Regions from separate parts of the Homo sapiens genome. Here region 2 is linked to region 1. The links are contacts of gene promoters, found by promoter capture Hi-C in blood cells and fetal thymus (Javierre and others, 2016). All regions are on one chromosome and are shown on one strand. The core of a region is centred on a gene start or on the middle of the fragment in contact, and the rest is flanking DNA. Distances in the headings are between cores, read along the strand shown. Region 1 holds the start of C1QTNF2 (C1q and TNF related 2). Region 2 holds the start of FABP6 (fatty acid binding protein 6).

Region 1 (3,654 bases), core at 422-2,921:
CCACATGGATAACACACAGATATTACCACTCTACTCTAGGAGAGGGGCTTTCCTGAGCCCTTTAGATTCTGAATGGCCTCCAGGCATTCTAAGCAGTTTCCTCACCTTTCCAATTGCTGACACATCTGACCCAAGAGGCGGTGGATGGAAGTTTCCTTTCCAGCCATCTGTGTATCAACACCCTAAACTCCACTCCACATGTTATCATTCCTTCATTTTTTGAGCTCACACTTCCCCTACATTCAGACAAGTCTCAGTCATCTCTCAGGGTTCACCTGAAACATCAGTTTCCCAGGCCTTCCCCTGACTGCCCAGTTTATACTTTAAGCTTTTCTTTTCTATAACACTCATTTCACTTGTAACCACTTGTGTCATCCCCAGCTGGAGGACTCTAAGTTTCATGAGGGTAGGCATCAAGCCTATTTGTTTCCCTCTATGTCCCCAGCACCTTGCTTGGGGACTGACACACAATGGATGCTTATTAAATATTTGTTGAATGAATGTTTGTTAAGCCTACAAACTTTCTTTCTCAAATAGTATTTATGTGATATTAGTAATAATTCCCTACATAGTTCAATGGCTTACCAAACATCTTTATGAGTTAGTGTCCCAACTTTGGGGTAAAGGCAGTGCAGGTAATATTATTCTCCCATTTTTTTTAGAAAATAAAACACCATCTGTGAGATTATCTGACTTGATTAAGGTGGTGGATACAACATTAGAATTCAAATGCATATCTGTATTAAAATTCTGACTGTAAATTTTGTGTCACTTACCAGCTGTTAACCAGATGCTCTGGCTGTGCAGAGTGAAATATGGGTAGCTAGTGGAAGAGAGCAGTGGAAGGAACAGGGAGAAGCAAAAGCCAGGCCTTGGAGGATTTCCTTTCCTCCAGTGCCTGCTTGATTCCCAAATAGGATTGCTTTGCCTATCCTGGGAGCTGAGACCCTCCATAAGTCTCTCAATGACTTGAGGCTGGGCCAGAGTGAGTGAGACCAGTGAATCCTCACCTTCTGGGGAGAAGAGAAATGAGAGCTGGTACACAGGGGAACTCACCCACACTAGTGTGTATGTGCACACTCACATCCGGACAAAATCCACACCAAGGCATGCATAGAAATCAACACATAGAATGAGCCACTGCACAGTCATACACACATTTAAACATACACCCCACATACAGATGTCAAACCAACACACAGAATGAGCCCCTGCACAGTCACACACACATTTAAACATGCACCCCACATACAGATGTCTAGCCACTATCGTGTACATCCAACCACTGATGTGCCCTCCAGTTTTACACCAAGCTGCCATCTTGGACATGTGCATGCATGTGTACATACACCGAACAGCCCTGATGAAAATTTGGATAAACGCACGTACGCACACACACAACTAAACACATCCCTATGATTTATCATCACACTCAAGTACATGCACACCTTTGCAAACGCGTGGGAAACAATCACTCTGATCACTCTGGCGCACAAAACCTCCAAATACGCTAACAAGCTCTACAAACGCAGAGATGCATCGACACACCCGAGTTGTCATCAGCACTGCAAGTTTTTTCCAAACAGCTGCTAAAAAGAGAATGCTGCGCTGCGGGCCAGCCCACGTGACCGGGAGGAAGGCTCTCCCGCCCATGACGGGATGGGAAAACTATGCCTGGGGCCGACGCTCTGCCCGGCTGCTGCCGCTGAGGAAAGCCGGGACGCGGAGCCCCGCCGAGAGCTTCTTTGCTCCGGACGCCCCTGGACGTGGCGGGCAGCCGCGAGGGTGAGTGTCCCGCACCGCGGTCGGGCGGGGGCGGCAAGTGCGCGCGGGGAGGAGGAGGAGGAGGACTCGCACTGCTGCGGGCGGGGCGGGATGCGGAAGGTGGGAGAGCTGCCAGCGCGCCTTTATTGCGGGCTGGGCAGCTCCTGCATTCCTGCCTCTCGACTTCTACCTTCGTATTATAATACAAATTAACATGTTTTGAGTCCTTACTGTGTGCCAGGCTCTGTGCCCAGTGGTTTACCCGTTACAATAGTAACACCCGTAGCTCTGCCATTTATTGAGCGCCTACTTTGTGCCAAGTCCTGCTAGCACTTTACTTGTGCTCTTTCATTTTCATGACAACAGATTATCCCCGTCTACAAAAGAGGAACTGGGCTCAGAGACATTAATGACTTGGACAGGGTTGCACAGCTAGTAATTGATAAAAAAGGGACTTGAAGTCTGGTAAATCTGAGTCCAATACCCGAGCTAACAATCACAGTTAACATTTACTGAATGCATTATTTCACTTAACCTTCACATTTATTTAAATATATGATACAGACTGGCAAACTGAGCTCAAAAGGTATTGAACGGCAGGCAGAGATTTGTACTCAATGCCTCATGACTCTCTTCACTCTCCTTCCCCACCTAAACTACTTGTCTTAATATGCTTTGTCCTTATTTCTCCATCCCCACTGCTGCTGCCCCATTCTAGGACCTCGCTTTTCAGCTAAATAATTGCAGTGGGCCCTAATAGTCTCCCAGCCCAGGTCTCTCCTCTGACACCATGAGTCCCTTGCATTACCTCATTGTGATCCTCCTCTGCTCCTTGACCACAAAATTGCCCTGCTTGGAAGCCTGCAGAGGTCCCTTCCTTAGACTGGCCATCTCTCAGAGACCCTGTGTTTCCACCATGCTGAAGTAGCAGTAATAGAAAGACAATGTCTTACATAGGTCAATCCAAGGCTGGTGCTCAGTTAGCACTGTTAAAAATCTGTCCTCTCACATCCTTATTTTTGCCCTCCCTCTGCACCATTCTCTAATTTATTCTGTCATCTGGAGTAATTATATCAATTACTCCTGCTTTCAACTGCCCGATCCTCAAACTCTCCACACATTTCCAAGCATCACTACAGCCCTTCATTGTAACACATCAGATTCACTGCAGAATTTGTTTCCTCCCAAATGTCTGACTTCTCCCCATCTCCTAGCAGGGATACCACACTTACCAGTCTTCCAATCCTTAAACCTTAGGTTTACCTTTTGTTTTAAATGTTATAAAAGTAACGACGCTCATCACAAGAAATTCGAACAGTTCAAAAAGGTAGAAAGAGAAAAGTAAAAGCCCACACACCCCCTCCCAATTCTGAAAGGTAACCCCTTAACAAGATTGTGTCTTTTCGGAAAGTATTTCCCCAACCCTTCTGTACATATATATACTCTGTATTTGTGCTGTTTTTTTTTTTTTTAAACTCAAAGAGAAGCATACTTTACATTCCATGGTACAACTTGCTTTTTTCACTTAACAGTGTGTCTTCGCCATGTTTTCATATCTGCATATACAGGCTTACTTTGTTCTTCTAATGGGCATAGTGTGTCATTGTATGGATGAACTGAGATTATTTTTCACAAGGCTGGAGTCACGTTTGAAGCCACTCTGTCTCCATTGAATGTTCAGCAAGTTCTCCAAGGTGTCACTTTTTTCCTCTGCAAATCTCCCTATTCCTCCCCCCTGTCTCGCTATTCCTTCTCTTATGCTGACCCTGCTGATCAGACAGTCTCTCCTGCTGTCTCAATCACTGATGCTTCCTACTCCTAAATGTTCACTGTGGGGTAACAGAGTCTCTCTCCACACCCACAGCTTCACCCACTCCTTCTTCCTGGTCA
Region 2 (3,654 bases), core at 660-3,159, 140 kb after region 1:
GACCCGGGGACAAGCAGAGTAGCCATATAAGAGCTGCTTTTAACCCTGTGGTTTGGGAAAAGAGCTTTCCTGCCCACCCCCACCGCCCTACCCCCTTGTGCATGATAGGCTAGCCTGCAGGTTAAGAGCACAGTGCCTGAGACAGCTAATACGTGCTGTGAGCCATGTGGCTGGGGAAAGTCCCTATCTCTCTGAGCTTCAGTCTATTCATCCACAATATGGAGATAATAAGGCCCATCCCAAAAGGCTGTTACAAGAATTATATTCAATGTGAGTGTGTTTGTGAAGCTCCTGGCACATGGTGGGTGCTCATCAATAATAACCAAGCTTCTGATAGTAATATAAATATAACTGAATCTTGCCAAGCTCGCGAAGTTCTGGAATGAATGAGACTTTCAAGACCAGGTATGGTGGTTCATGCCTGTAATCCCAGCTCCTTGAGGGCCCGAGGCAGGCAGATCGTTTAAGGTCAGAAGTTCGAGACCAGCCTGGCTAACATGGTAAAACCCTGTCTCTACTAAAAATACAAAAAAATTATCTGGGCATGGTGGCAGGTGCCTGTAATACTGGCTACTTGAGAGGCTGAGGCAAAAGAATCACTTAAACCCTGGAGGCAGAGGTTGCAGTGAGCTGGGATCGCGCCACTGCAGTTCCGCCTGGGCTACAGAGCAGGACTCCGTCCCCTCCTCCCTGCCAGAGAAAGACTGTGTCTTCTAATACTTTTATTTTACAGATAAGGAAGTGAGCACCCAGAATGGGAAAGGGACTTCCCAGTATTTCACTGAAATTTAATGACCGAATCAGGTCTAGAACCAAAGTGGGCTCACTTCCCATCCCACAACACGAGGCTGTTATAGGTGAAGCCAAGTCATTGCTCCTTCAGGGCCACTGCCAATACATGACTCAGAGGGACTCTCGACTCCTCAAGGCCCCAAGGCACAAGGGCCCTGGTCTCAGGGTTGCTCTGAGCCAGCTGGCAGGCAAGAAGTGGCCACCAAGAGGGAGGGCACGGGTCCCCTTGAGCTGTCCTCTGAACCTTGAGAGTTACACTGCCTGAGACTTTTTAGATAGTGAGATACTGAGATTTCCACAAGATTGTCAGATCCACTGTCTCATTGGTTCCTCACAACAGACTGGTGTTACAAGTCAAGCAGTGAGAGAAGGAATGAAATCACTGGTCTCTCTGCCCACAGTGTTTGGCACAGTAAGAGGCCTGTGTTTGCTGAATGACTGTGTGAAGAAGTGACTTGTCAAACCTGGTCTCCATGCTAACCCTTTGGTTTCCTCTCCCAGGCAGGATGTGGTGACACCACTCATCACAGGGTCCTGGGTGCCAATGGCCTCTGCCACTGACTTGGGCAAGTCACGCTGAGTCCCCATTGGTAACACTGAGATAGCCTTGCATATAGCTGGTGTTCAATAAATGTTTGATGGGCTGGGCTCGGTGGCTCACGTCTGTAATCCCAGCATTTTGGGAGGCCGAGGTGGGTGGATCACCTGAGGTTAGGAGTTCAAGACCAGCCTGAGCAACAGGGTGATACCCCGTCTCTACTGAAAATACAAAAAATTAGCCAGATGTGGTGGCACATGCCTGTAGTTCCAGCTACTTGAGAGGCTGAGGTAGGAGAATTGCTGGAACCCAGGAGACGGAGGTTGCAGTGAGCTGAGATCATGCCACTACACTTCAGCCTGGGAGACAGAGCAAGACTCCGTCTCAAAAATAAATGAATAAAAATAAATACATGTTTGACTAAATAAACATCAAATCTCTACTTCACCAACCAAGTCTCCACTTTACCAATTACTAGCTGTGTGACTTTGGACTAGTTAATTCCCTGGGCCTCAAGTTTTCCATCAGTAAAGTGGAAATACTAATATATTCTATGTGTGTTTTAAAGTCAAAGAGTGTCTATGCTGGGTGCGGCAGCTCACGCCTGTAATTCCAGCACTTTGGGAGGTCGAGCTGGGTGGATCACCTGAGGTCAGGAGTTCAAGACCAGCCTGGCCAACATGGTAAAACCCCATCTTTACTAAAAAAATACAAAAAAAAAAAATTAGCCGGGCGTGGTGGTGCACACCTGTAATCCCAGCTACTCGGGAGGCTGAGGCAGGAGAATTACTTGAACGTGGGAGCCGAAGGTTGCAGTGAGCCGAGATGGTGCCACTGCACTCCAGCCTGGGAGACAGAGTGAGACTCTGTCTCAAAAATAAAATAAAATAAAATAAAATAAAATAAAATAAAATAAAATAAAATAAAATAAAATAAAATAAAAAAGTTAAAGAGTGTCTTAGTTCTTATTATCCTCAGAGCCTGGGAGAAAGCAGTTGCTCAACAAATGTGTGAATGAATGAATGAGTGAGTGAGTGAATGAATGGATGAAATCCTGTCCCATTCTACTTTAGGGTTCCTGGCCCAGAGCTGGCTGTGACAAACCAACCCCGAGGAAGGGATACCCAGGAGCTCACTCACCAAGGAGCTTCATGAACTCATCATAATTCTTCTCACTCTCCATCTCGAACTTGCCGGTGAAAGCCATGCTGCTGGGAGGCTGGAGGCCAGAGAGCAGAGGGATGAGGAGAATGGGTGGTGCTGAGGGGTCTGCTATCCCAGCTTATAAACTCTCCCAGTTGCTGAGGCTCAGCCCCTAAGTCACCCCACTTCTTCTCCCTCCTGTCCTGAAGAGGAAGCACTTGCTGTTTTATGATGTGGGCAGGACCTGGAGGGACAGAGCCCCGAGGTTATTCACCCTGGGGAAGTGCTGTCACCCCATTGCCAGCAGGGTCAGGATGGCAACGGGTTTGAGGAGTCATCACCTCTCTGCCCATCTCTCCCTCCGTTCCCGCATGCCCTGCCCTCAACCCATGCTCTCACCATCTCTCATCACTCTTGCACCCTCTAACTCTGCAGCCAAAGCACTTGAGCACTTGCTGCATGCAGGGCCAGCACTGAAGAAACACAGATGAACGAGACACACACCTTTCCCAAAAGAGCCTTTGGTTTAGTCCAGAGACAAGCACACACCTGCAGAGAGTTCTTGTGTAAGCAGGATGTGATGTGCCCCAGGAGAAAAGCAGATGGCTGACCTGGAGCATGGGGAAGGAGCAATGGTGTCCAGCGCAGGGCTAGTGCATGTTTGGGGAGGAGGTGGCATTTGGCACCCGTCTTGGAGGACCAATAGGACTTGGATGTGTAGAGAAGCAGGAAGGTTGGAGGAGGCTGAGAACAAAGGGAGACGATATTCTAGGACGAGGGAACAGTGTGACGAAGATGGAAAGGGCCATGATGAAAGGAAACAATGAGTTTAGCTGGAGCAAAGCAAACTTGAAGGAGAACAGATGCTCCTAAGGGTGCAGATAATGCAACCAGAGTAAAGCAGCCACCCATGGGCCTAGGCAGCGCACCTGGAGGAGAAGGTGCCAGGTGCCTTGAAGATGCCTGTGCACCAGGCACTGGGCTGGATGCTGGATGAGTTTTATTTTGTTCAAGCTTCAGAGCTGGAAGGGGTTAGGGGTTCAGAATCTTGACTTCCATTTCCTGCTGTGTCTCTCAGTACCACTTCACATGCAGGGACTCTATCTCCTCCGTGATCACTCCGGCCTACCCATCTTGTGAGAATGTCCTCTGCATTGGGCAAAATTGACAGTGCAAAGTAT

Evidence for each region. The method cuts DNA at HindIII sites, captures the fragments that hold promoters and counts their contacts. A CHiCAGO score of 5 or more calls a contact.
Region 2: a contact is called between a fragment that was not itself captured here and the fragment with the promoter of C1QTNF2 in region 1, in 1 of 17 cell types (neutrophils). The highest score is 11.7, in neutrophils.

Annotation. Positions count from the first base shown.
Region 1 is chr5:160,368,643-160,372,296 of GRCh38, reverse strand. It overlaps C1QTNF2 (C1q and TNF related 2), which reads left to right and starts at 1,671. Exons shown (of 3, transcript NM_031908.6): 1 at 1,671-1,785. The HindIII fragment of the contact is 8,188 bases long and covers 331-3,654 here.
Region 2 is chr5:160,228,441-160,232,094 of GRCh38, reverse strand. FABP6 (fatty acid binding protein 6) reads right to left here and starts at 2,589. Exons shown (of 4, transcript NM_001445.3): 1 at 2,471-2,589. The coding sequence starts at 2,537. The HindIII fragment of the contact is 3,160 bases long and covers 330-3,489 here.